Linked DNA regions of Homo sapiens: regions 2, 3, 4, 5 and 6 are each linked to region 1. The links are contacts of gene promoters, found by promoter capture Hi-C in blood cells and fetal thymus (Javierre and others, 2016). All regions are on one chromosome and are shown on one strand. The core of a region is centred on a gene start or on the middle of the fragment in contact, and the rest is flanking DNA. Distances in the headings are between cores, read along the strand shown.

What was found. Contacts are between HindIII fragments. The CHiCAGO score rates a contact against its expected background, and 5 or more counts as called.
Region 2: a contact is called between a fragment that was not itself captured here and the fragment with the promoter of DRGX in region 1, in 4 of 17 cell types (M1 macrophages, M2 macrophages, megakaryocytes and 1 more). The highest score is 8.7, in M1 macrophages.
Region 3: a fragment that was not itself captured here is called in contact with the fragment with the promoter of DRGX in region 1 in 2 of 17 cell types (M0 macrophages and M1 macrophages); the score reaches 6.8 in M0 macrophages.
Region 4: a fragment that was not itself captured here is called in contact with the fragment with the promoter of DRGX in region 1 in 1 of 17 cell types (M0 macrophages); the score reaches 5.1 in M0 macrophages.
Region 5: a contact is called between a fragment that was not itself captured here and the fragment with the promoter of DRGX in region 1, in 2 of 17 cell types (total B cells and M1 macrophages). The highest score is 6.2, in total B cells.
Region 6: a contact is called between a fragment that was not itself captured here and the fragment with the promoter of DRGX in region 1, in 1 of 17 cell types (M2 macrophages). The highest score is 5.1, in M2 macrophages.

Annotation. Positions count from the first base shown.
Region 1 is chr10:49,394,249-49,398,921 of GRCh38, forward strand. DRGX (dorsal root ganglia homeobox) reads right to left here and starts at 1,841. Exons shown (of 7, transcript NM_001276451.2): 1 at 1,687-1,841; 2 at 1,159-1,273. The coding sequence starts at 1,192. RefSeq lists a silencer at 3,856-4,015. The HindIII fragment of the contact is 25,200 bases long and covers 1-4,673 here.
Region 2 is chr10:48,974,022-48,978,694 of GRCh38, forward strand. It overlaps WDFY4 (WDFY family member 4), which reads left to right. Exons shown (of 62, transcript NM_001394531.1): 58 at 841-1,020; 59 at 2,776-2,958; 60 at 4,288-4,372. LOC105378298 (a long non-coding RNA gene) reads right to left here. Exons shown (of 4, transcript XR_007062370.1): 4 at 2,958-3,079. Among named protein-coding and RNA genes, the nearest start is that of MIR4294, 9.2 kb to the right of the region's middle. The HindIII fragment of the contact is 939 bases long and covers 1,388-2,326 here.
Region 3 is chr10:49,010,683-49,015,355 of GRCh38, forward strand. It overlaps VSTM4 (V-set and transmembrane domain containing 4), which reads right to left. Exons shown (of 8, transcript NM_001031746.5): 8 at 3,554-4,673. Among named protein-coding and RNA genes, the nearest start is that of MIR4294, 27 kb to the left of the region's middle. RefSeq lists a silencer at 1,238-1,493. The HindIII fragment of the contact is 4,698 bases long and covers 404-4,673 here.
Region 4 is chr10:49,035,468-49,040,140 of GRCh38, forward strand. The region is part of intron 7 of VSTM4 (V-set and transmembrane domain containing 4); the gene reads right to left. Among named protein-coding and RNA genes, the nearest start is that of MIR4294, 52 kb to the left of the region's middle. The HindIII fragment of the contact is 664 bases long and covers 1,492-2,155 here.
Region 5 is chr10:49,063,284-49,067,956 of GRCh38, forward strand. It overlaps VSTM4 (V-set and transmembrane domain containing 4), which reads right to left. Exons shown (of 8, transcript NM_001031746.5): 5 at 1,420-1,453. Among named protein-coding and RNA genes, the nearest start is that of VSTM4, 50 kb to the right of the region's middle. The HindIII fragment of the contact is 1,840 bases long and covers 898-2,737 here.
Region 6 is chr10:49,117,223-49,121,895 of GRCh38, forward strand. It overlaps LOC124902545 (a long non-coding RNA gene), which reads right to left and starts at 4,239. Exons shown (of 2, transcript XR_007062371.1): 1 at 3,981-4,239; 2 at 2,894-3,886. FAM170B-AS1 (FAM170B antisense RNA 1) reads left to right here and starts at 4,617. Exons shown (of 6, transcript NR_038973.1): 1 at 4,617-4,673. The HindIII fragment of the contact is 2,250 bases long and covers 733-2,982 here.

The DNA.
Region 1 (4,673 bases), core at 591-3,090:
TCCTATTGGACTCTTAAGAGCTTTTATGAGAAAAACAAAAACAAACTTTCTGAGGCTCAGCCACTGCTCAGGGCAGCCTGCAGCAAGACTGACAAGCATCACCTGAAGTCTCAGGTCTCCTAGCGCCTCACAACATATACCCTGCCCCTTGTCTCCCACAACTACTTGGCTTCCCAAATTCTCCCACCACAATAATAAATCAAACGAGTAGGTTGCCAAATGCCAGTCCGACGGTTACAAAAGTCCCAATACCCCAGTGCTGAGACTGCTGCTCTGCAGAAGGCCCCATTAAAGCCCACAGTGTGGCATTGGCTCACCTGATGGCTACTAATTGGCCCCCTGATGTGAAGACCCCATCCTTGGATCCCTCGGGTCCTGAGCAGGGGCATGCTGAGGTCCCAACTGTCCCCTTCTCACCAACCCACGCCCCCACTAACAACTGGGTGCAGAAGCCAGACTGGGGATCCTGAGGGGAAATTTCTTCTCAGGCCTGGAGACACTCAAAGATGGAAATTCTGGCCTGGGGAGTGGGGAGTGGTCGACATTTAGGGTTAGTGAGTCACAGAGAAGGAGCCATGCTAGGTCAGTCCGGGCAGGTGGTGGGCAGGGCCACCTGGTTCCAGGGACGGCCAGGAGGCCGGGAAGGGAATTGAGCTGCCCAGAATCCAGGGCGGAAGAGGCCCCTGCAGTGTTCTCGCCAGCGGCCCCAGTGAGAGCAGCCCAGCGACGGGCCCTTGTAGGCTCGTGCAGCTCGTGATCTGGGCCAGGACGCGGCGGGTCCACTCGCCTTTGCTTTCTGGGATGTTTGCAGAAGCACCGTGAAAGATTGATGCGGCCCCCTGGGTTGCGGAGCCCCAATTAGAGGCGTGACACCAGCATCTGTGCTGGGAGGATTCGGCCGGTCCCCGCGGCACGCCTAGCCCGGGGCGTCCTGGCCCAGGCGGGGAGGGAGCTGGGAGGCAGGTGGCGACGGGGCGGGGAGCTGGAGCGGGCCTGGAGTGGGGTGTAGGGAGGGGTCCAGGGAGGCCCCTACTCACCGGCAGGCGGCTGCGCCCCCCGCAGGGCGGGGACCCAGCCACCCACCAGCCCTGCTGCCGCTCCGGCCCTTTCTGGCCGGCTCTGGCTTCATGGAGACCCTGGGGCGCAGCGCTTACTTACCCTCTAGCTGTGGCGGGCAGTGGAAATAAAACATCGCCGGCTGTCAGATCGGCTGGACGGCCGAGACCTGGGAGGGTGGCAGCAGAACGGACCCGCGCGCGTTGCTCCTGCCTGGCTGCAAAGCAAACAGCGATAGAGCTTCAAGTCTCCCTCTGCCAGCGCTCCCGCCCAGCCCTAGGGCGCACCCGGCGCTCCCCTCCTGGAAAGTCCCTCCCAACGCCCTCATCTCACTGCGGGGGACAGGAGGGAAGGCGGCAGCCCCGTCGCAAGCAGCAACCCCACAGGGCAGTCCTTCGGGTGTGTCCACCTCCCGGACGGCCGTGCCCTCACCCTGGCCCCAGCACCAAACCCCGCAGCGTAGTTTCTGGCTCTCTGGGGTCCCAGCCAGAAGCCCTGCACCCGGGCCACCGCAGCCAGGTCCGGCTAGCGCGCAAGGCCATCTGCGAGCTGCAGCTCAGGCCAGGAAGGCAGCCGAGCCCCAAGGCCCGGCGCTCGGGGCCCGGCGAGTGGGTCAGGAGCCGAGCATACCTCGGCGGGCGGCGGTCGAGGAGGTCGGAGCGTGACCGCCTCCGATCCGCAAGCCCTGCTCGGCTGGCGGCGGGCGGGGCTCGGCGCGGCTGGCGCCCGCAGGACCAAAGAAGTGACTCGGGAAGTGGCCAGATGTCTTGCTGTCTGTCTGCAGCGCGCGCCGCCGCTCAGCACTCGCCTTTATAATCTCACGCATAATTGGCCTTAATCTGATTATTTCCAGCGCTGTCTACAGCGAGTAACTTGGATAGGTCTATTGGGCCTTACAAATGGCCCACGTGGTGTTAAAAAAAAAATCCGTCATTTCTCAGCAAACATCAGGAATGCTTTTTCCTCTTTTAAAAGAGAACGATACAACCACCACCACCATCACCCCCAAAAACATACATTTTCCGAAAACACACTAGGCCCCACCCCCCACCTCATGTCCCCTCAGAGGCAAACCTTTCTCCGAGAGAGCCTGGTTTGGGCTGCCCTTATCAAAGGCCTGGTGACTCCCGGGCTGCAAATTGGCAAAGCGCTGCTAATTGTCGCCGCCGGATGGGTTTTGGGGGGACTCTTTGCACACGGCTTCCCTTTCCAAACGATCGTACAAAAGGAAAGTTTGATTTTGTTCTCAGCAAGGGGTCCCTGAATTTATGTTCGCTTCTCGATGCAAATGATATGCGGTGGGACCCTTTGCAATTACTTTTAAAATGCATCCGAGGCAGACACTCAACGGAGAGAGACCGCCCTTCTCTCTGCCTGGGTGAAAATTAAACTCTAAAGTACCGGGCTGAAATTTTCAAGTCAGGGGCGCGGGATTGGATCAAATCACATAAACTGCAAAAAAAGCAAGTCTAATGGCGCATAATTGGTTCTGTAATAGCATTACACCAGGATAATAGCCCGTTACGGCCCCCTGCACTATTAAGTGCTTCCCTGGCGGAAAGCCTTTATGATATTAAAGGGGGAATATAATGATATTTTGGTTATTAAATGCGTGTAATTAATTTATGCACCACTGAAAATAAAGTTGGTATTATGACCCACTCAAGATGCATCAGAAGATGCAAGTCAGACAACTGTTGATAAGTTCTGGTGTCTGTGCTCCGTCTAGACTGCTGATTTTATTTTGGGACGATGGCTTCTTGGACAGACTACATAAATTGAATATTTTATAAACATTCTAATGCTGCGTTAGGGAGCCTTGGCGAGGTGGTGGGTCGGGTCCCTGCACGGCCCGGGATACAGCCTTGATCTTAAAGACGCAGCGCTTTGGAAACAAAAGGCCTGGCAGGCCCGCCGCTGGACACCAGCGCTGGGCAAGGAGCATCGAGCTGCAGGACAGAGCGCTGGGTCCCGGCCGCCGTTGACGCCCCTCCGAAAACAGCCGGGAGGAAGACCAGTCCCGCTCCGGTCGAGGCAAGTCAGGATCTATTCCAGTGAAGCGGCCCTTCCTGGGCTCAGTCGCTCCAGAGCAGAGTCTGCTCTGCCTCGGGGAAAGAATCACAGGAAACTTCCGCTCGTTTCAGAGCGGAGAGAGCTCGGGGCGCCATTTCCGCCAGGGCCACCGACTCCGAGAGTCCAGGCAGCCGGCCCGGGAGGAGCGGCTAGCAGGTCCCGAAGGCGGGTGAGGTGGCAGGCAGGGGCCGGCAGGGCAGCCGAGGGCCTTTCCTACGTCATGCCAAGAGGGCTGGGAGCCCCTAGAGCTGATCCTCCCTTAGCCCAGGTCAAGAGACTGGCTCGCGCGCGCTGTCTCTCTCCCTGTCTCCCTCAGAGGGCCCCTGCTCTCTGGAGCTCTTGACAAGAGCCCGAGGCTCCTCTTGCCGCCTAGGTCTGCCGAAAGTCCCCTCGGGTTCCCTCCTGCCCTAGGCAGCAGTTCCCTGCCTGTGCGCTTTGGGAACCCGGTGGCCGTGAAGTGAGGTGCGGACAGCTTCTGGGCCGCCTCGGCCAAGATGCTCAGGCGCACCTGGGGGTGTGTGCGGGAACCCTCAGCGGCAGCAGCCCAGCCCGGGGTGCAGTGTTGGCCCCAGAAACCAATGAGGTCCAAACGCCAGTCTCAGTTCCCCATCCCTGACATCGACCGAGGCAAGTTCCTATTAAGGCCCAGAGATGACCCCGGGACGAGACAGGCTCATCCGGCGCGGATGAGACAGGCTCAGACCTGCGCGGTCTGAGGACGGCGCGCTCGCCGAGCAACCCGGCAGGTCAGAACCCTGGACAGCGGCGCCGGTTTCCGCACCCCCACCCACCCCCGGCTGCTGCGGAGAAAGAAGCCGTACCGGGGGCCCAGCCGGGGCCCCTCGCTGCTCAGGGGTGGGATCCGCCCGGCCGGACCCCAGGCGTCCGGGGACCGACCCCAATCCTCTCCCAGTCCAAACCTGCGAAAGTTACTCCGGACATGCGCTCAGCGCTGGCAACAGAGACAAAACTCCCTTCTCCGCAGTACCACGCGCCGCTCCTACCCGGCCGCTGCAGCCGGAAACCATCTCGCGGCCCCCGAGGAGAGTCCGGCCGCCTCACTGACTAGATAACCAGCCGAGCTCCCTCAACACACCCACCTCGCGGGGGCTCTAAGCCGGCTTGGGACCCTCGGCCTCGCCTCGCCCGGCGCTCCTCTCCCGGAGCCGCTAGGCTGGGCTCCTTCCCGTTGGCAAAACAGCGAGTAAACAAACAACCAAACAACCTTAGAAACGAAAGGCTGCACCAAACTTTGATGACGCCAGCCCCCTTTTTTTCCGAATGTCTCGACACCCGGGAGAAGGTGACTAATAGGTGTTCGCTACGGTCCCCCTCCCCCTAAAAAAGGGCGTTAGTAACGAAAAGGTTATTTTTCCTTAATTTTTGTGCGGTAAAATGTATTTTCCAATTAACCAAATTCGCCGATCTGTCTCGCTTGGACACTCTGATAATTTACAACCTAAAAGTGTACTTTCTTTATCTAAAGACCAAGGTGACTGCTTTTAATTTTCTCTAACCTCTTTACACTTGATGTTCACCAGACT
Region 2 (4,673 bases), core at 607-3,106, 420 kb before region 1:
GTTGGGCACATGTGAGAATCCCCTGAGGGCTTGTGAAAATTCAGACTTCAGGGCCCCATCCCCAGCGTTTCTGATTCAGGAGATTTGGAGTGGAACCCAAGAATTTGCATTCTAAGAGGCTACTTGCTGCTACTGAGCCTGCTGGTGTGGGCACCACAGTTTGCCAACAGTGCTTTGTATGTTAATCGTAACATGAACTGGCCAGGTGTGATGGCTCACACCTGTAAACCCAGCACTTTGGGAGGCCAAGGCAGGTGGATCACTTGAGGTCAGGAGTTCAAGACCAGCCTGGCTAACTTGGTGAAACCCCATCTCCACTAAAAATAAAAAACATTCGCCAGGCATGGTGGCAGGCACCTGTAATCCCAGCTACTTGGGAGGCTGATGCAAAAGAATTGCTGTACCTGGGAAGCAAAGGCTGCAGTGAACTGAGATCATGCCATTGCACTCCAGCCTAGGCAACAGAGCAAGACTCCGTCTCAAAAAAAAAAAAAAAAAAAAAAAAAAACAACTCATGACATGAACTGCTCCCGGGTTCAAGATAGATGTAGGGCAGCACAAAACATCCAGGTGTGGCTAGCCTCTGGTTGGGTTATAAGTAAAAAAATGGTTTCTCCCCAGCAGAGCCTCCACCCCTGGAGATGAATGAAATGGAGAGGCTAGTCATGGACACGCACATGCACACACCCCCAGCTGCACAGACAACAGACTTGGGAATCACTGACTCACTCAGAATCTCCATTTCCTCATCCAGCACCCAGCTTTATAGGGAGGGTGAAGAATTCCCAAAAGTAGCTGAATTGAGGGTCCCTCTCCTAACCTGTGAGTCTCTGTCCCCAGGCCTTGTATGGACACACACAGGCTGTCACGTGCCTGGCAGCGTCAGTCACCTTCAGCCTCCTGGTGAGCGGCTCCCAGGACTGCACCTGTATCCTGTGGGATCTGGACCACCTCACCCACGTGACCCGCCTGCCCGCCCATCGGGAAGGCATCTCAGCCATCACCATCAGTGACGTCTCAGTAAGTCTCCTGTTTCTCAGTGTCCGTGTCCTCACCTTCGCAGTAGCATGGGGTACAACACTCAGGAGAAAGCCCAGAGACACAGAGACTCTAGCCACCCCAGAATGCTGAGAGGGCCCCCAATTGTGTGGAACAGTCGCTGTAGATCTCACTTGTAGCACCCAGGTCTAGCTTCAATGTCCGCTTCTTTACTTTCCTCCCTCTGGTGTTGGGGACAGTGGGAAGTGTCTGCTTTGCTGCGGGCACCAGGGGGCTGCAGCTGAAAAATTGGCTTTTAGGGAGGGTTTTGTTGGATGTGGCTGACTCATTTAGGTCTTTACCTTCAAATCAGTGTTGACTTGGCAGGTTTGGTCTTCATGGCAGTGCAAGCTTCTCTGCCTCTCCTTCCATACTGGCTAACAAAGACCAGGGAGATCGACTTACCGGTGTGAAATTTCTTCCAGACTGAAGCCCTGTCATGGGATATGGGGTTCCCTGAGGATGCAGAGGTTTCTGCATCTGCTCACAGAAAACCTAAGGGGCCCAGGGCATAAATAAAATGGGCAGAGGGCTCAAAAGAGGAGGGATGATATAGGAGCTTCCTGGTTCCAATTTTTGCTGAAAGTGGTGCTCCAGGTAGGCTTGAATTCAAAACTGGATTCAATGTTAGATGAGTAGATGGAGTGTGAATGGATGGGTGGATGGATGGGTAGATGAGTGGATGCATGGGTGGATGAATGGATAGATGGATGGACGGGTGGATAGATGAGTGGATGGGTAGATAGATAAATGAATGGATGGATGGATGGATAAATGAGCAGATAAATGGATGAATAGGTGGATGGAAAGATGGATGAAATGGATAATGGATTGGTAGATGGTGGGTGAATGGATGGATGGGTTGATGTATAGAAGGCATTGAAGCCTTCACCTGGGAGAATATAAAACCCATCAGGAATTGTGTCCCTAGACCCCAGAGAAGCCTGGCACCAGGACAAGTTGTCCTGCAGCCAACTGATTTCAGTCTGTGCTTGCTGGTTGTGGGGCAGAGAGGTATCAGACATGGCCTCTGGCCTCAGACAGACCATCCCTAACAATTCAGGAACTTCTAATGGATCCCAGCCCAGTGAGATGTGGAGGGGCACTGAGCACCCTACATCCCTTCTGTGATTAGGGCAAGGCTCAAAGGGATGGCCCCAGGACCTTGGTGACAGTGGCCACTATAGAATAAACAGGACTTGAGGAGGAAAGACTCAAATGTGAGCATATCAGGAGATACAATGGGGAAATTTCTCCTTAGAAATTCCCTCTTCAGGGACATTGCACAAGCTTATGAGCCACATGCAGTCATTGGAACTTCTGTACCCTGCCATCCACCAGGTGGCATCCAAAACTTCTTTATGGGGCAGGGCTGACCTACCAGGTGTAAGCTGTGTGTCCAAAGCCAGGGCTACCCTTCAGGCTGGATCTTCTGTGGCAGTCAGGGTGTGGTTGGGGAGTGGGATCTGGGAGGAGCCTGAGGGTGAGCCAGGTGCCTTCTGCCAGGAAAGAAGTATCTAAGCACATGACTGCAGTATGAAAAGAACCAAGAATTTACAACTGTGTGAAAACACAGCAGACCTGTAAGTCAGCTGGAAAGAAGTTTTGGGGTACCTTGGGGGTCTTCAGAGCATGACAGATTGAGAGTACTTGGGTGTACCAACTGGGTAGCTGAGCAAGTGGCTGATGGGCAGGCAGTGACTCCAGCTTAGAGTGATGCCAGCTCTCACTGCACAGGGCACCATTGTCTCCTGTGCGGGAGCACACTTGTCCCTGTGGAATGTCAATGGACAGCCCCTGGCCAGCATCACCACAGCCTGGGGCCCAGAAGGAGCCATAACCTGCTGCTGCCTGATGGAGGGCCCAGCATGGGACACAAGCCAGATCATCATCACCGGGAGTCAAGACGGCATGGTCCGGGTAGGTGTGTCTTGGGCAGAATGAGGACATGACACAAGAAACGTGTTCATCTCCATTCTTCTCACTTCCTCCAGGGGGCCAAACCTGCAGGTTGCATTTGAGACCATTCCAGAACGGGTACCTACAGCAAAGGAAGGGAAAAGACAAGGCTCTTTGCAGGGAAAAAGTAAATAAATAAAATTATATATATAGTATTACACACACAGACACACACATGCACACACACACAGACACACACTAAAATAAATACTGTTACAACATATAAAAGTTGAATGGTTAAATGCAAAAGATTATATCCCAATGCTAAAAGGAGATATTTGCGTCATCCATTCAAACCAAACTTGCCCACCCATCCACTAATTTATCTACCCACCTACCCATTTATCTCTCTACTCATCTACCCACCCATCCATCCACCCATCCATCTCTCTATCCACCCATCCACTCATCCATCCATCCATCCATCCATCCATCCATCCATCCATCCATGTATCCCTCCATGTATCCATCCATCCATCCATCCATGCAGGCTGAGGTACCTAGGCAGTCCCCTCATAGGACTTTATCTGTGGCCTCTGCAGAAAGCAGGGCATCCTGGGATGGCCTGGGCTTGGTGGGGTGTGGCCCACATCAGTGGGCCAGCCAGAGGAGCCTGGGGTGGCCGAGCTGCAGAGTATATTACTCTCCTGGGCCCCCCCAAAGCGTAAGTGAGGGTCTTCTGTGCACTCAGCACTCATTCATTCGATGTGGTCACTGAGCTCCTGGACTGGCCCAGTGCTGTGCTAAGCCTGGCGTGGGGCTCACAGAAGCATTTGAGAGGAGGCTGGTCCTTGCCCTTTGGTGATATAAAATCCAGACCCAGTGAATGAGAAGCCATTTTGAGTGAGTTGGCCTCAGGGCTCCCACAGTAGGCTTAGCGCCAAGGGCCAGACACAAGATGGGGGTGCCCAGCCACCCAGGGGTGAGGGAGTACTCTAGAGGTGGTAGCATTATGGGCAAGAGGGCATTGGTTGAGCAAAATGGCAATAAACTGGTTGCAGAGTCACATCCCTGCAAGAAAAGGGCTGTGGGGGTCATGAGATGCACTTAGGGACATGGGTGGGGTAAATTCATTCAAGGTGCAACTGTGATTGGCCAAACCTCTGCATGAGGAAGCTGAAGGCTAAATAACCTTTTACCTGATGATAAGTTAACATCAGAAGTGAAAGGGGGGCCATGTGTTCATCCTTTCCCTGGGGGACCCCTAGGCGTGAGGAAATGGACTAGGCCACTCCAAGCTTGCAGACAGGATCGTCTTCCCCGCCGATGACATTTGCTCTTTTGGGGCAGGTTTGGAAGACTGAGGATGTGAAGATGTCTGTTCCTGGACGGCCAGCAGGAGAGGAGCCCCCGGCTCAGCCTCCAAGCCCAAGAGGTACCTGACCTGCTAGGGATGTGGCCGTCCTGGCCTTGCCCTGCCCTCCTCACCTCCCCTCTCTCCACCTCAGCCCAAGGGCTGCAGCTCCTCCCAGGTCTGCCCAGCCTAGGGAGGCCTAGGAAGGCACAGAGAGGTTCAGTGACTTGCCCAAAGTCACCCAGCAAGCAGACTATCCTCACACCTGCTGCCATCACAGCCACAACGGCCTCAGAATAACCTAACCATAGACACTGGCATGTAACCACCATCACCAACCCCTCCATAATGAACACAGGTACAAACCTCCCCATCAAAGCTG
Region 3 (4,673 bases), core at 1,503-4,002, 380 kb before region 1:
CTTATACCAGAATGTCTTTTGGTTCTGATATAACTCATACTTCCTATGACATAATAGGAAGAGCACAGGATTGGTACTGGGAAACTCTGAGTTTGAATCCAGCTCTGCAACTAACAGTGTGGCCTTTGGCAAGTCTCTTAGGATGACCCTGAGCCTCATTTCTCAGAGCTATCCTGTAGCAATGATGCCACCTGCCTTTCAGGGCTGCCATGCAGTCCCTGGCACCATGTCTGGCAAGCAGAAGATACTCTGGCAACAGTAACCATCATAGGATGTTTTGCCTATTGGTGTGCTTCTATGTGAACACATGAATACCATGTGAATTCAGTGTCTGACATAGTAGGAGCTCAGCAAAGATTTACGGAACTGACGTTGACCTCTGAAATGTCCCTTGAGCGAGCTAAGCTTATCTAGGAGACAGTTCCCACTCCCAGAATGGCTGACTGTGCTTCTTTCAGCGGGAGGTGCCCAGCTGCCACCTTCCAATGAATCCTCCCATCCAGCCCTGCTGGAGAAGGCTGGGCCTCAGCTGTCCTCCAGGGTTGGGCAGGGAGGCCACAGACAAGAGCCAGGGCATGAGGAGCTATGGAAGGGGCAGAGAAAGCCTGAGTCCAGATCCTGATGCCCACCCTGCATCTCTGTTACCTAAACTCTCCTTTAAATCGTGGTCTTTTGTATAAATGGTGGGGAACGAAAGGGGAGTTTAAGTAGACAACCTCTAGTATCTCTTTTAGTGAGGACATCCTATAGAGAGGTCATGTTCCTGGAAACCAAGTCACCATCTTCTGGCACCTGGGAAGGCCTGCACTGCTACCTGGGGGTGGAGATAAAATCTGCCACTGCACAGCGAGGGCCTCCTGAGTCCCACTCCCCGGCCAGGGCCTTTCTTTGATTGTCCTTCCATTAACGTGCCAAAGAACACCCAGAAGGCATCTTCCCAGGTATCCCTGGGGTCAGTCCTTATTATGCTCACCTGCTGCTTGCCTCCTGAGGGCTGAGGCACTTCCCATTGAACTTGCCAGCTCTGTGCTGCCACAGGGGCTGCCATCACAGCCAGCAGCCATGTCAGTGGTGATTGGGGTTGGGAGAGCATGGGACCCCACCTGGGCTTCCTGCTCTTCCGGTTCCAGATGCTGCTGAAGACAGGGCTGGGTGGCTGGCTGCCTGTGGGGATCTCACCAGTCCCAAGGCCTGCTTGCAGCGCACCACGGGCTCTGATCATGGCCAATGCTGCCACTGCCATGGGACACGCTCATGCCCAGCACAGGCCTGCTCTTGCAACCGTGAAGCTCCACACCACGCTGGGCTGGGCTTCCAAGGTGGCAGCTCACAGCCACCGAGGCCTGGGTCAACAGCACAGAGGGGAAACTGCAGAAAGGTAGGCGGGAGCCAGGTATGAAGGGCCTTGCTACTCCTCGAGGTGCTGGGCATCCTGAGGGCAGTCGGGGCAGGATGTTGGGCAGGGGTAACTCGGCCAGTCTGCATGTCGGAGGGTGGGTTAAATGGCAGGGAACAGGTCAGGAGTCAGAGTGGTGGTCCATGAGAGAGGTGATCAGAGCTGATGGGAAGCAGGAGCTATGTGAATGAAGACAATGGGGGAGGTGCCGGCATGCAGGGGAGATGGACAGGAGAGAGGAGGGCTCCAGCTCTGCCATCCTGGGCCAGCTAGCTGAGGTCTTCTGCTTCTTCATCTGCAAATTGGCATAGAGTAGCACTGGCTTAATGAGATAAGACAGAAAACATACTTACCACAGTGCCAGGCACCTGGTATTTTCAATAAGTCAGCAGTGATTCCACTGCTGCTGCCGGTGGCCCATATCTCCAATGCTAGATTTGCAGCTTTAGCCATGGGGTGAGCGGTGGAGCCCTAACCAGGATGGCTGGGTATCAAGAGATGCAGGGTGCTCTGATGCATTCAGTATTGGGTGTATACTTCCAGGAGTCATGAGGGAGCTGCAAGGGGGGAGCTCGTGGGTGGACATGGAGCTCAGGAGAGGGCTCCACGGGGGCTGTGGAGGTGGGGTCCTCGGGATACAGCTGAACAGTGGTTGAAAATAAGACATTCTCTGCAAGAGAACACATGCTCAGCAGCGAACCCCAGAGGGCTTGGGCAGAGCTGAGTTCAGGGGAGGGGGAGCAAAGGCAGCCAGCAGAGGGTGAGAGACAGACAGCAGGGAGCAGGCAGTGTAGACTCCAGGCTGCAGAGAGAAGGAACCAGAGGAGAATAGTGGCTTGGGAGGGGTCTGTGCAGGTTGAGAAACACTTGTCATTTTGGAGATAGAAGGAGAAGTTGAATGTGCAAAAAAGATGAGGGGTTACATGGTAAAGGAGAACCCCAAGGAAACTAGAAATGAATCCTGATGAGGTGGAAGAATGAGGAAGCAGGAACAAGACATTGTAAGAATGAAAGAGCAAAAGAACTAACACAACTAACTCCATTTTCAATTAAGGGAGCCCTTATCCATTCCTGCACGTAGGCTAGGATAATTTTAGGGCACTGAGATAAAATGCAAAAACAGCAATCATGTAGTTTTTGAAACTGACTCTGGGATTAAAGGAGAAGTATGTAAACAACTATGTTTCGTTGAAGGTTTATAGGAGCTTTGTGATCTGACCAAGGACAAAGGAGTTTCCAACTTCCTGGACCCTCGCTGGTGCCCAGATGTTAGCAGTTGTTGGTCATGTCTTTAACATAAAAAGAGCCTAGAATTTGTACTGACTTGAGATGGTCTCTGCAACACTAGTCTGCCATCTCCTCAGGCTGCCAGCTCTTGAATAAGCCTGCTTTTCCTTCCACTAAATCTTGTCTCTCAAGTTTGGCTTCCAAGCAGTGAGCAGGAGAACCTGATTTCAGTTACAACATTTTAAGGAATTCCAAACTGACTATGAAATGGGCTGGGGTGCAGTCACAGGGCACTCAGAACTGGGGTACTGTGAGAACCTGGGAACCCACACATGGGCTGAGGGAGAAAAGAGATGGAGGAGACCCCACAAAGGGGAGGATTGGGAGCCCCAATCCTTAGCTGAGCCAAAGATCAGCCCTGCAAGAGGTCAGGGTTCTTCCAGCCAGCAGGAGTGAGGGTGGGAGCAGAGAGGCTTCCTGGAGCCAGAGCTCAGTGCAAGGGGCAGTTTTAGGGTTAGAATGCCTGGGAGGTCGCCAGGCTGGCAGGTACCTTTCCATCTCCTTAGTTTGCCCAGCTTCCTCATGATGTTCTCTGGGTCCATTGTGGCCAGGACACTGGCTTAGGACCCTCTCTAAAGTCTCCATCTTTTGTGGACCACAGACCCCTTTTAGAAAACTGAAGAGAACATCAGACCCTCACACACACAACACAAACGTCTGCATAAAAATTCCTGGGTGTTGTTGGCTTCCCTGAGATCCATCCACAGACCCAGGAGTCTGAGGTACTAAGTGTACACATAAACAGGAAGTAATCACCCTGGCCGCCCCCAGCATGTAGAAAGCTGTCATAAAGGAAAACAGAAGGCTGATTCCTTCAGCACAGCCCAGAACCCCATACAGACCACCTACTAATGAGCTTTCTCCTCGTTGTTGATGGAGGACGCTTGTAATAAAGTTTAATGTGGAAGAACAAGGTGCATTTAACCAAAGCTGTAAACATCTCTAATTATATTTAAAACTGTAGAGTGCAGTACATTAACATTTAACAATCAGACACTAAATTGGAGTGACGCTAATAGCATTGTGTTTATTAGAAATTGGGCACCAAGTCGTCTTTCACCAGTGACAACAGAAGGAACAGAAAACCTCCATGGCCACCCTTCCCCACCACGCTGCGTGTTCAGGAAGAGTCTTGTCCAAATCCCCACCCCCTGAGAAGATGAGGATTGCTCTGGGGAAAATACACTCAGCAGACCAGACACAGCTCAGCGCCCACGTCTGTTAGCCTTAGGCACTGGGGAATGTTTTTTTTTTCCCAGAGAAAGAAAGCACTTTTAAAAAGCAGTAATCAATTAATTCAGAATGAGCAAAGGCTTAACCTCTATTCTCCCTGCCCTCTGCAGAGTTCACACTGCAGATCCCTTCTTCCTTTGAGACACCCCTAGGAGCAGCTTTCTCCTGGCTCTCCCCTGCTGCTGTGACTGTCACTGTCCTCTGATCTCCACCTGGATCTCCTTGCCTGCTGCATACCTGCCAGCATGGATGCTCCCCACTGCTCAGGCCCAGCCCTTCCCCTCCTCAATGTGCAGGCAGCCTCTCCCTGGGACTCTTGCCCGCTGTCAGGGCTTTGGCTGTGACCTATGCCCTGAGGACACCCCCTTTCCCGCAATGAGCACCAGATCCATGTTTCCAACAGTTTACATCCTTGTCACTCAAAGTGTGGTTCAGGGACCAGAAGCATGGACATCCCTGGGAGCTTGTTAGAAACTCAGAATCCCAGGTCCTATCCCAGACCTCCTGAGCCAGGATCTACATTTTTTTTTTTTTTTTTTTTGAGACGGAATCTCACTCTATTGCCCAGGCTGGAGTGCAGCAGCACGATCTCGGCTCACTGCAAGCTCCGCCTCCCGGGTTCATGCCATTCTCCTGCCTCAGCCTCCCGAGTAGCTGGGACTACAGGCACCCACCACCATGCCTGGCTAATTTTTTGTATTTTTAGTAGAGACAGGGTTTCACCGTGTTAGCCAGGATGGTCTCGATCTCCTGACCT
Region 4 (4,673 bases), core at 574-3,073, 360 kb before region 1:
ATCTGCAGTAGGATTCCCTTTGTCTCCCAAAAGGGAGGCCTAAGGAGAGCTTAAGGAGCTCCCCAGTTTTAAAACATTTCTTGAGGCCAGGTGCAGTGGCTCACACCTGTAATCCTAGCACTTTGGGAGGCCAAAGTGAGAGGATTGCTTGAGGCCAGGAGTTTGAGACCAGCCTGGGCACATAGCGAGATCCCAGCTCCACAAAAAAAAAAAAAAAAAAAAAAGTTAGATGTGGTGGCACATGCCTGTGGTACCAGCTACTTGGGAGGCTGAGGCAGGAGGATCAGTTGAGCCCAGGAGTTTGAGGCTATAGTGAGCTACGGTTGCCATTGCACTCCAGCCTGGGCAATAGAGCAAGACTCTATATCAAAAAAAATAATAAATAAATAAAGACTCCTTGAAAGTAACTGTGTCACTTAGCCCACCTTCAACAAAATTGGAGCCCCAGTGAATTTCTATTGGTCTCTGACACAGCTGAGAAGCACGTGACCTGGTTCTTGCTAGGCAAGTGTTGGCAGGGGCAGGCAGTAGAGGGGCCTTGGCACTAACTGTGTGGCCTGCAGGGAAAAGACAGCCCTGTGTCAAGGTTAACAGACTTCCTGATACAGGATATTCTCACTTCCAGTGTGGGAGAGATATGATCTTGATCACATCCAGCTTACCGAACGCCGAGATACCTGCTCTCTCTAGACTGGAGGAAGCCATGAAAGCAAATGGCTTCTGTTTTCCGCACGCCCATCCCTTCTGAAGCCTCAGCATCCGTTCTTCCCTCCAGCTGACATACATAACTCCCCGCAACAATAATGGGCTGTGCATGTGTACCTAGGGGAGCATAGAAATTTTATCTCTGCAAAAATGGTACTAGCGTGGTACAAGCAAAGTTTGTATTTTTTTCCCAAGGCTTTTACTTGGGGCAATATATTGTACATGTGGTTGTGGCTTTTTTTCTTCTTTTTAATTTTAAATCGAGATTATGAACATATTTTATGCAGGTTAATATATCCTTTTCATGTAAAATTTAACTGAAACCAGTTCTAGCACATTAACGACAACAAGAGAAATTCTCTGGCTTATTATAAACATCCTTCAAGAAACCTGAAATGCATGTCCTCTGGAAATAATTTTGCTGGGATTTGGGTTATTATTAAAATCCTCTCAGAATTCTATCACTGCTTTCTAATGTGCTTCAAAGTCCTTTTCTGCTACTGATAAGAGACAGATTCTTTTTTGGCCCTGGCAGTACATTCTCAATGGTGAAAACTAGGGCCGGGGGAAGAAACTTCTTCCCAACACCCAGCAGATGTGGAACAAGGCAGGGCATCTCAGCCCTGGGCTGGCCACACTATGGTTTTCAACAGCGCTATGGAGGAGGCAGGTTCCTACGGCAGGGTCCCTCTGAACAAGGATGAATGAACTACTTCCTTTCTGTCCATTTTGAGCATTCTAATCTTTGGGTTTCTGTGAGAAGAGGGAGGCTTACTGTGGACTGTAAGCTTGAGGGAATCACAGGCAAGTAAGTCTTGGTCACCTGGCCAAGTGCTACACTAGGAGATCATGGGGCAAGGCTACATATACCTGGTTGACATACGGATGAGCTGTTCTGGAAAGGTTTGCAGGAATTAGGGAGAGTCACAAGGACTTTTAGAATTCTCATATTTAGTTTTCTCCTTGTTGACAGATAAAACAACTCCCTTTCTCCCCAGGGGGCTGACCTGTCTTACTAAAGTGAAAGCAGAGTCCTCTCTGGAGGTGGGTGGCAGCGGCTCTGGATCCTGATAGCGTCGACCCCACCAGAGGTGCCTACTTAGTCTGAAAAGTTAGTCAGAGCCACACTTCTCAAACTTTACTGTTTATCATATTCATCTGGGACCTCGTTAATTGCAGGTTCCACTTCAGTAGGTCTGAGTCAGGGCCGGAGATTCTACTTTTCCAACAAGCTCCCAGGCAGTGCCTGGCCTTCTGGCCCACAATTGGAGCAGGGAGGACTCAGACTAAGTTCCAACCACAGATCCTCCCACGCAAACATTATTCATCATTCACTCCATATACATTGGCCAAAGGGGCGCTCTAGTGACTCCAGGTTCCCTGCTGAGGATATCATTAGGGGTAAGACCAGTTCTCCCTGACTTTAAAACCAGTTCCCATGTAAATTTAAAGCTTCTGGGAATCAAGGGACACAATTAACAGAATGAAAAAGTCACTACAGGACAGGTGAAAATTTTGGCAAATTATGTAACTGATGTGGAATTAAAATTCACAATATATAAAGAACTCCTACAATTCAGCAACAACAAAAAATCAAACAATCTCTTTTTTTAAAAATGGTCAATGGACTTGAATAGCCATTTCTCCAAAGATAGACAAATGGCTGACAAGAACATAAAAAGATGCTCAACATCACTCATTAGGGAAATGCAAATCAAAACCACAATGAGATACCACCTCACACCCATTAGGATAGCTACTATCAAAGAAAAAAAAAAGGAAACCAACAAGTGTTGGTGAGGATATGAAGAAATTGAAACCCTGTGTGCTCTTTGTAGGAATGTAAAATGGTGCAGCTGATTTGGAAAACAGTGTAGCAGTTTCTCAAAAAACTAAAAATGCCATTACCATCTGATCCAGCAATCCCCCTTCTGGGTATATAACCAAAATAATTAAAAGCAAGAACTCAAACAGATATTTGTACACCATGGTCACGTCAGCATTAGTCACAACAGCCAAAAGATGGAAGCAACTCCGTTGTCCAGCAAGGGATAAATGGATACAAAAAATGTGGTATATACTTACAATAGAATATTATTAGGCCTTAAGAAGAATGAAAATTCTCACACACACAGCAACGTGGATGAATAAGGACATTATGCTAAGCAAAATAAGCCAGTCACAAAAGGACAAATACTGCATGATTCCACTTCTATGAGGTTGCTAAAGCAGTCAAATTCATTGAGACAGAAAGTAGAATGGTGGAAGCTAGGGGCTGGCTGGGTGGGAGTGGGGGGTGTTTCTTGAGTACAGAGTTTCAGTTTTGCAAGATGAAAAGAGCATTGGAGATTGACCACACCACAGTGGGAGTGTTTCACATGACTGAATTGTACACTTAAAAATGATGAAGATAGTACGTTTGCTGTTATGTGTATTTTACCACGATTTAGCTTCTGGATGGGAATGCCATGGGCTAAGGCGGGATATCCCATGCACACTGAGGTGTGGGGCAGGCCATGAGCTCCGTGTGTGCTTATGTCATGGCGGATTTGAGGTGCCTGTGGGCCCTCCAGGGGAGTGTCTGGTCAACAGTCAGAAGGGTTGTTCTGAAATTGGCTTGAGGACCCCCGTTAGGGGACCAATGGGCTGCACAGATGGCTGCTGTGCCTGTGAATGTCAAGGAGAAGACAGCCCAAGAGAAGCCAACATTCTAGGACAGTGGAGGAGGGGGAGGCAGCCTGACCACCTGTGGAGGAGCAACAGCCAGGGGTAAAAGCAGTCAACCAGAGGGCCCAGGCCTCTCAGGACCACCTGCAAGTACAAAGGTGGGCGGACCATGAGGGGGCATCCAGGACAGAGGAACCGAAAAGTGCCCCAAGAGCTGTCTACAAGCAGGTCACTGACGTGAACAGGCACAACTTACTCAGATGCCTAGGCCAACCTAGATTCCAGAGAAGTGGGGGGCAGAGGGGAGGAGGCCTCAAAAAGAAGGTGGTGAGTGAGCCACATCTTAGAGCTGAGCAGCAGCTCTGCGGGAGGATGAGGCAGGCGTAGGTGAGGACAGAGGACCTAGACCAATTGGGGTCTCAGCAGGATGAGGGTCCTGGGTGGGGTGGGCCTGAGGGAGCGCAGGCAGATTATGACAAGAGCCAGCCGCTACTCACAGGAAGCCGCCTCATCCTGGAGGCGAGAGGGAGCCATTTACGCAGGGAAATGACACAGATGAAGCTGTGTTTTAGAAAAATCCCCCGGTAGCCACGCAGAGGATGGATTGGAGTGAGAAGACAGGATGCAAGCGCTTCCCTGGGAAACGTGCAGTGATTAAGCCTGTGGTGCTCCTGGTTTTCTATGTCTTTCGTCTGGGGCTGGCTCACAGAGATCATTTTCTCCCTAGAGAACAGGGGTGGCCTGACCCCCTCAGCTACCCTAGGGCTTCATTATGGAGAAGGAGGACTTGCAGATGAGGTGTGGGTGACCCATTGTGGAGGAGGGCATGGTTGATGACGAGGCATGGAAGAGCCTATCCAAGTTCATTCAACTCCAAGGTTGACACTTGCCACCTTCCAGTTAATGTTGAGATGCTGACTGCCCTCCTTCCCCATTCAGGTAACAGTCCTGTGTCCTGCGGCTGTTTTTCCTTTAACTCTGAGGTTTTCCTTCCGCATCATAGAAAAGTTCCGCTACTTGGCCTCTGAATCAATAACTGACAGAAAGCAATAAAAATAAATCAAATGTACTTCTGGCTTTCTCAGTGTCTTCTGAAACAAGGAAGTAATGACAGCTTTTCCTGGAAGTGTGTGAATCAGCTCCAAGGCTTCCGAAGCTTTGCTGCAGGGCATTTAGCTCCTACGGCCCCAGGAGGCTTCAAGGGATGCTTGGGCCAATGCCTCACCCCAAGGGGATGAGGGAGCACTGATATATGGGAATTGTAAATGTTTATTAGACAAACTGGTCACAGTGTCAGACAG
Region 5 (4,673 bases), core at 568-3,067, 330 kb before region 1:
AAGATCATGCTATTGCACTCCAGCCTGGGCAACAAGAGTGAAACTCCATCTCATAGAAAGAAAAAAACTGCTTCAAAATTTTTGTCAGATAATTTCAACACCTGATTCATCCCAGTGTTGATCTGATCTATTATCTCTTCTCATTCAAGTTGTGATTTTTGTGGTTTTTAAAATGATGGGTGGTTTTTTTATAGTAGCTTGTCAGAAGGTCCCAGGTCCTATATAAATCTCTTATTTTTGTAGGCAGTCACCCAGGTTTATCATGTAATCTTGGTCTGCTTCTATGGGCTATAGTTCCAATGGCATTTTCATTTTCAGAGACTTTACAGTATTATTTTGGTCTGTTTGGTTTATATGGTGCCACTGGGCCCTGCTGGTGCTGCCAGAGGGGACAGAGAGAGTTTCCTCAGATTTGGAAGCTGGATGTTTTTCAGTAGGGGAGAGAAGCCTCACACCCATGGAGATGAAGAAGCTTCCTTGCTGGGCCACTTTTGTGTCTAGGTGCCTCTTGCTGGCTCTTCCCTGAAGGCTTGGTGTCACCTGGTTGAGGAAGGGAGTCTTAGCCTGGAAGAAAAAGTGAGCTCTTCCTCTGGTGCTCATTGTGGGAGGAGCCCCTGATCCATCCTCTTTGCAGCTGATGCTGGGCTCACTTGAGGTTTTCAGGGGAACTCCCCTTTGATCCAGGGGAGGAATGAGCTTACCTGAATGTTTTCTGTTGCTAGATTGGAGTAGGAAAAAAGCAAGTCTGGGTGACCTTCTGCTGTTGGATGGGAAAACATAAGATGTCTAGCAGTTGTGTTACTCCTCCAGTCCTGGGATTCCAAACCAGTTTACCTTCTTTTCACCACCTTTCAAAGTCTTCATTTGGTTGTCTCTTATGTTATTTCCAAGGTTTAAAGCTTTACTCAGCAGGAAAGAGAAGGAAGAAATTGACCTATGCCATCTTGTCTGGATCAGAAGTCCCAAATTTTTAAACGCTTTGAATTAGCACTATCTCTTATAACTATTATGTTACCTATAAAGTGTGCCTCACCAGCTAAAAGCAGGGCATACAGTAAGTCAGCATTGGTGAAGAGAATTGGGGGTGTTTGTGGTCAAAATGTATCAAAGTGGTTCAGAGCAAGTGTGAGCCCCTTCCTAAACTGGGGAGCAGCTCTGCAGGACCATACACCAAGCCTCCTCCAGCAAGCCTGCTGGGCCAGCAAAAGCTGCATGCTCTCTGGATCCCTGGGGGTGAAAACCAGACTGTAGACCTTGGAAACATGCAAATGCATGCAGGATACACATTTGCAGGCATATTTGTGGACAAATATGCAGACTTTTAGGTAAAACTACAAATTTAATCAATTTATTGGTAATATCAAAAGAAAGTTAAATGGCAAAGAGTTTCATCTGAAAAAAGGAAGAAAATATTCTTACCTGTTCTGAGGGCATTTCACCAAATAATGTCTCACTGTGAAAGGAAAAATAATAGAAGATGGTAAACCAATGCTACTTCAGATATATATGCTCCAGGAATTACAAGGAAATGCCGGGAGCCAGGTGTTGTTCAGGTATTGGTGCTATACCACCCAACTCTCAAGACTTGCATTCTTCTGTTTGGAAGAGCACAGCAGAGCCATCACATGAACACAACAGTGACTGGATATGTCCCAGCCAGGGATCTAGCCAGGCATTAAGCCATACACCCCAGACTTCCTGGGTATTCATTTTGGGCCAAGGCAGGTTAAGTTGGGATCCTGGAGTAATAGAGTCACTCAACCTCTAAGCTCTGCCTGAGTCATAAGAAAGCCCTCTTGAGGCCAGATGGAATAACGTGTCCATTTAGAAGCTCCTCATTGAAAAATGAGTTTGAATTCTCTGATTAATGCTCTTCCAGGACTAAAAAGAGGCCCTCGGGAAAAGAGTCTTGGACCAAAACCTCCTCCTACAGGAAAACCAAATGATTCTGGCTGCAGAGGAAAAGTAAGAATACCTAGGCACATAATCCAGCAAGTGTCCACTCTGAGGTTCACAGCTGAATTTACTTCAAATAGAGGTAAAGCTGAAACAACCAGGGGGACCCTTGAATTGTGTGGTAGATTGTTACATCAGTGGACTCAGTGAATCACACCTCCTTGTATGTGTCCACACCCATGTGTACCCCCTCCCAAACTGACTCTGGGCTTGGCCATATGAACTTGCTTTGGTCAAGAGAACATTAGCCAATGTGTCACAAGCAGAGGTGTAAAAGACACCTGTGCTATGGGGTTTGCCCTCTCTTGTTGCAGGGAATTTTTCTGTCACCACATGAGGAAGCCTGGCTAGCCTACTGGAAGATGAGACTACACGGAGCAGACACCAGCTGTCCCAGCCAAGGCCCCGAACAACCAGGTCCCAGGTAATGCATCAAGAGACTGCAGCTGCATGAATGACTCCAGCTGAGACCAGCAGAAGAAATGGTCAGCTAAGCCCAGCCCAAACTGGCAACCTGTGGAATTGAGAGCAGATAATAGTTGCTTTAAGCTGTTACATATGGGGTGATCTGTTACGCAGCTTCCAAAGTAAGATGAGAGAATCTCAGCTTCAAATGGAACTGTACAGGTTTATCTCGTTCAGCCTCCTATTAATACCTAAACTCTTTCTGTATTCCATTTACCGAGCATCTACTGTATACTAGATAATCTATAGATGCAACAATAATAACAACCATAGTTAGTATTTATCGAACATTTCATGTGTCCCTGGCACTATTCTAAGCTTATTAGATGGATCAGTGGTCTTCAGTCTAGGGTCTGGATACCCCTGGGTACTCTTTGGCAAAACAGTTTTAAGGAATCACCTTAACATCCTCACCTCCCATGGTATTCTTTCCTAAGAATGCATTCTCTTAGAACATGCCTGAGGTCTGGCCGTATTCATTTCCCTTCCCCACTTTTAACATCACCCTTTTCTATTCATAAAATCAAAGCACACCATCCTGGAGACCTGTCCCAGATTGAAACGTAAATGAGACATCAAACAAGAATTAATGTAAAATACTAATATCTGTGTCAATAAAGCAAATTATTAACTAGGCAACTAAATCTTTCACAAGGGGGGGATGTTTCTAATACTTTGCTTTCAACAAGGATTGAATAATGACCTAATCCAATTGTCATCTGGTAGAGTATTAAAAATCATTTTGGATGATAAATCATGATGTGACTTTTGACATATACCTTGGAAGTAGTTCTAAAAATTGAGGAGTATAAGAAAATTTCATTCATTCATTCATACTCTGTTTATATTGAAGTATTTCAGAGCTAATATCTATTAACAAAATTGATGATAAATTTTATCCCTAAAAAATTCATACCAGGGTATATGAAGTAAAAATAAAAATCAATTTCAATAAAAATGCATTCCCAATAAATTTTGCTTTTTATGGCTATTATGTATCTAAATTTATGATATGTTTATGTCATCTTGATTAATCTTATGCTAATTTTCCAAAGTTTACTAATTGTGCAATACTAATAAGTCAATCTAAAAAATATTTTAACAGACACTTATGAAATGAGGAAATTAAAAAATTATTAATTTAAATTTGTACACACATATTATCTTACAGATAAGTAAAATAGGGTAATCAATAAAGAACCTTCAAAACAAAAGATGTATTACAGTAGGATGAAATTTTGTGGGGAAGTGTACTGAAGATAAAAATTCAAGGAGAAGAAGGAACAATACAAAATTTCTAACAGTTAAAACTTGTTTGGGTAGGTACTTTTTTTCTCATGATGGCTTTAAATAAATGAAGACAGTCATTAAATTCAAGACATTTAGATGTGAAAGAAAGATGGATCTAATCATTTCATTTTTAAGATGTCAAAGATGGAAATTACATCTTTCGCAACAATTTACATTTATGATGAAAAAGTTTAGATGTCAACAAAAAAATGATTGAGTGCATAGTTTTTGAAATTATTTTAGGAACTATGCAAGCAAAAAAGTTTGAAGACCACAACTTTGCATTCTAACTTAATCTTCACAGTAGCCTTGTCATTACTTTTATCTTACAGCGGAGGACACTGAAGCACAGAGAGGTTAATAAACTTGCCCAAAGTCACTCAGGTGATGTTACGGGCTGAATTATGTCTCCTCCACTGAGCCTAACTGAAGCCTAATCCTCAGTACTTCAGAATGTGACTGTATTTGGAGATAGGGTCTTTAAAGAGGTAATTAAGTTAAAATGAGGCCATTAGGCTGGGCCCTTATCTAATCTGACTAGTGTCCTTAAAAGTGAAGGAGATTGCAACAAAGACAGGCACAGAGGGAAGACCATGTGAAGACACAGGGAGAGCAGCGGTCTCTAAAGCCCAGGAGAGAGGCTTCAGGGGAAATGAATCCCGCTGACACCTTGATCTCAAGACTTCTGGCCTTTAAAAGTGTGAGATAATAAATTTCTGTTGTTAAAGCCATGCAGTATGTGGTACTTTGCTGTGGCGGCCTCCGCAACCTAATACACCTGGGAAGTGCCAAAGTTGGGCAGCTTGGCTCCAGAGCCCTCTTGTAACTATAGTCATCCCTCATATCTTTGGGGCATTGATTCCAGAACCTCCCAAGGATACCGAAATCCGAAGATGCTCAAGACCCTTATATAAAATGGAGTAGTATTTCCATATAACCTACGCACATCCTCCTGTATACTT
Region 6 (4,673 bases), core at 608-3,107, 280 kb before region 1:
AGCCTGGGGCAGTGTTTGGCAGACTGAGGGAGGATGTCTGAAGAGGAGCACTGGTTCTGAAAGTGGATCTGTGACCCGCTCTGGCTGGGCAACAACCTTGGGTCCTGGAGCAGCACAACCTCTCTGAATTTCATTTGTCAAGTGAAGGTGACACATGTAAAATGGCGTCTTGACATGGCTGTACTAAGAGCAGCTAGAGATGTGGCAGGGCCATTTGGTATCCTTGGTAACCTCCCACCTCAACCTGCTGGTCTCAATTTACTCTCCCAGTTGGTGAAAAGCAGAAGGGACCCCTTAGATGTGTCAGCCACCCTTGGAGGAGGCAACTCCTGCTTTGGTCGTTGTATATTGCTAAATATCCAACTCTCATTGCAAAACAGAGCAGAAATTCAGCCTGCCACCCTTGACTTGCTTCGTCTTTACCAAACTGGGGTTGTGCCAAAGATTTGAGGCTAGAAAGTGCTTTTCTTGTACTTTTCTGCTACAGGTAACATTGTGCTGATTTTACAGCTGTGTGCACTGCTGGTACTTTTCAGCTTCCCATATAATCTAACTGATCATCCTGGTAAAACCTTTGCTGCATGAACACAGGAACAAGGGAATATACTCAGCCCTCATGGGAGACAGAGCCAGTGACCCGGATAAGACTTGGCCTTTCAGCTCTTCTGGACTACATTGGCAAAGGCCTTCCAAATGGTTTTCTTAGCTCTGCTGCCTGCTCACTCATTCACAAGCTTAGGACCATTTGAAAATCCTTCACAGGCTTCTTTGTCCATACCTTGGCTCTATCAGGTCTTACTTTGTACTGAATTGGAAGAATAATACAATCCAATTCTATTTTTTGTTTACCTCATAAGAAGAGGGTGTTCAAACCATTCTAAAGTTGATCCAGATTCCTGTGGACACTAAGCTATATGGAGAGCCTACTCAACTAATCCTGTATTCTACCAGTTGCCACTGAAAGAATCTTAGAAATCCAGATTTTCTCCAACAAGTGCATTCTGCTATCACCTGGCAGGCCGGGGCTTTTCCTCTTTCATTATCCAATTGTTTGTTAGAACCTGGGTCAGAGATGGAAGAGTACAGCATGGTTTTGTAATGGACCTTGCACACAGCAAATATATCCCTAAACTAAGACCATCAAGCAAAACGAAACACCCCTCTTCTAAGGTGTTTAGCAGATTTCCAAGTGTTACTTTTTCAGTCTAGGTTTCTAAAAGTAATTTTGAATATTTGCTCCTCCCTATTGTTCACAGGCATTTTACAGCTAAAAGCAGTCAGCTACATGCTTGAATTGCCACTAAAAGAGAGTTCACTCTAGAGAAAAGCAGTTATCAGCTGTGACTGAGAGAGCAGGGAAAGGATAAGAAAGAGGAGAGATCGTGGTTACAGACAATGCAGCCATCCAATCAGAAAGATATGCCTAAGGCCCCTGGGGCAGAGTTTACATGAAACCTTCAGCACCGTCTTCTCCCTGCACAACTGGGGAAGGAGTATGGACTACACTGTTTTTCCCGAAATGTACAGAAATGTGAAGCTATAGGCCTGACAGGATGTCTAGATAGAAATAGCTTCTAACCAACCTCATTGGTGACCCCAATAGAGGGACGTGATTGTGAGCTGATGCCAAGGGCTCTGCAGGCCGGCTGGATGCAGCAACCTGGACCAGCTCCCAGGAAACGGAAAGACATGGCCCCAGATTCCTAGAAGGCTCCAGATGGAGGTGATTGAAATGAGGGAGGGACTAGGAACCAAACAGATGTCTATAAAACTGACCACAAAGAAAACATCTTAGAACTGACCACTGATGTATAAGACTAAAAATCTCAGTCTATGCCTTCTACTTTTATTGAACATTCAGTGAGCAAAAGACAGACTGAAGAACTGTTCAGAGTAAAAGAGGTTAAAAAGACTTATCAACTAAGTGAAACGTATGATCCTAGATCCTTGATGTGGGATCAGGAAAAAAATGCTAAAAAGGACATTATTGGTATGACTGGCAAATGGACTATATTGTATACTACATACATTTCCTGAGCATGATTATGAAAGAGAATGCCTTTACACTTGTTCTTAGGCGATCCACACTGAAGTATCTGGTGTTAATAGAATGACTGTAAATTACTCTTAAATGGTTCAGCAAAAATAACAAGTTTATCTATAATATGTATTGTATAATATATATATGGAAAGAGAGAGAGACACAGGGAGAGAGAGGCAAATGGGAAAGTCAGTAGATCTAGATAAAGAGCATATGGAATTCATTGTACTATTCTTGCAACTTCTGTAAGTTTTCATTTTTTTCGAAGTAAAACTTAAAACTAAAACTTGTTTATTACTTTTATGATATCTCAGTGTTTTTATATATATGCTGCTCATAGGCATCATGTAATTATTGATCAGTATCATACATATTACATTATTTCATCTATTGTAAGGTACTATTAATTATAAATTGCTTCCTCCCCATGTCAAAGATGTTACAGTAAATGCAGTTCTGATGTTTTGTGAATCCAAGCAGAAGACTTAGGCTTCAGGAAAATTCCCATTCTGCATTCTTAATAACTTAGAAATAAGGGAATAAGACCTCTGTAAGTCCTCTACAGAGACACAAAGACTCCCAGCTTGGAGCAAGTCTAGACTAAAAGTGTTAGAGAAGCAATGGATTGTAACCAAAGTCTAGTATGAGCTGGTCTGACACACGTGGCAGTTTGACTCCTGTGGAGGTAAAGGCATCAAGCTCTATCAGCATGCGACTCCTGTAAGGCTCTGACTCACTTCCCAGCCCTTGGCATGAGAGCCCATCACCCATCAGGAGAATCTGAATGGCATTCAGTTCCATATTCACAGAAGAGGCAAATCGGTTTCACAAACACCCATAGTCACATTAAACTAATGTTGTTAGTTTGAGTTTTATTGCTGTTTGCAATTGTGTTTAATTTACACATTTGGTTTTTGTTTTGCACTTGTAAAGCAACTATAAGCTTAGCTGTTTGTGTTTGTGCTGCTTTATTTCCACAGCAATAACTGAAGTCAAGGCAGGGTCCATAGGAATGTTTCTTGGCCTTTGAAAAGAATAGTAGTCAAGTTTGCCAAACATTGCTTTAGGGAATTCTCACTCTCTTTTCCCAAGACTGATGGCACCCCAGCTCAGTAGTCCTTGAGGGTGTGCTTGGAGGGACTGCAGTAAGTCCAGCAGCAGATGGTACATAAATCCTCAGGAGTCAGGAGTCATTTGTGAGCCTCTTCACAGGGTCCTTGTGCTTGGCCCGAGCTAGGTGTTAGCATGGCCCAGTGCAGAGCAGCAGGTAACACACACACACACACACACACACACACACACACACACACAAATGTATGCACACACATGCACACATGAGCTCTGGCTTCTGGTACCCAGGCTGTGGGCTGTAGACCTGACATTTTCATGAATCTCTTTACTCTGTCTTTTCTAAAGCTCAGCACATCCTCTTTGTCCCTGTGCCCAGCTCATTTTTCTGTGGGACCTTCTGGTCACAGGGAGGGAAGCATTTGAGGCTGAAAGTAGCACCACATCCCCACACGCCTGACTCTTTCTGCAAAACCTTCTGACATGTGCCCACATCACCCTCTGTGCTCAGGCCAGAGACCACCCTGTGTTCACCAAAAGTGAGTTGCTTGCTCCCAAATGTATTTATGCTATTACCAGCATTTACATCAACAAATGTGGACAGAGTGCTCACCACGTGCTTGTGCCCCTAAGGACCCCACCTGGGAAGCCTCCCTACCTGAAATGTGGACCTCCCTGAGCCTTTGTGGCTGCTGTCTTCCTGTCTCTGTCTCCTGCTCTTCAGAATCTATATTCATTTTTTCAGGTTGCCGTAATCCACAGGCCAGGTGGCTTAAACTATAAAAAACGTATTGTCTCACAGTTCTGTGACACAGTTGGAGATCAAGGTGTCACTGGGTTGGTTTCTTCTGAGCTTCTTTTTTCCACTCACAGATGCCATCTTCTCCTTGTGTCTTCATGCAGTCTTCTCTCTGTGTGTGCCTGGGTCCTAATCTCCTCTTCTTATAAAGACTCTGGTCATATTGGATTAGGCACTCCCATATGAATTTACCTCTTTAAAAGCCTTAACTCCAAATACAGTCACATTTTGAGGTGCTAGGGATTAGGATTCAACATATGATTTTTTGAGACAGAGTTTCGCTCTGTCACCCAGGCAGGAGTGCAGTGGCATGATCTCAGCTCACTGCAACCTCCGCCTCCCAGGTTCAAGTGATTCTCCCACCTCAGCCTCCCAAGTAGCTGGGACTACAGGCACCCACCACCATGCCCAGCTAATTTTTGTATTTTTAGTAGAGATGGGGTTTCGCCATGTTGGCCAGGCTAGTCTCAAACTCCTGACCTCAAGTGATCCGCCCACCTCGGCCTCCCAGAGTGCTGGGATTACAGGCGTGAGCCACCATGCCCAGCCCTCAACATACGAATTTTGAGAGGACACAATTTAACCCATTACTGAGCACCACAGAAATTCTCATGAAAGGTCTGTCAGGACTCCACCATTTTGACATGACCCTCGTTTTCCCCCACAATCCCCCTTCCAGGACCCCATTGTGATGTCACATTTCAGGTCAAAGCATTACATGTTATTCTTAACACCTGCCACTTCTCTCTTCCCACCTCTATCTGC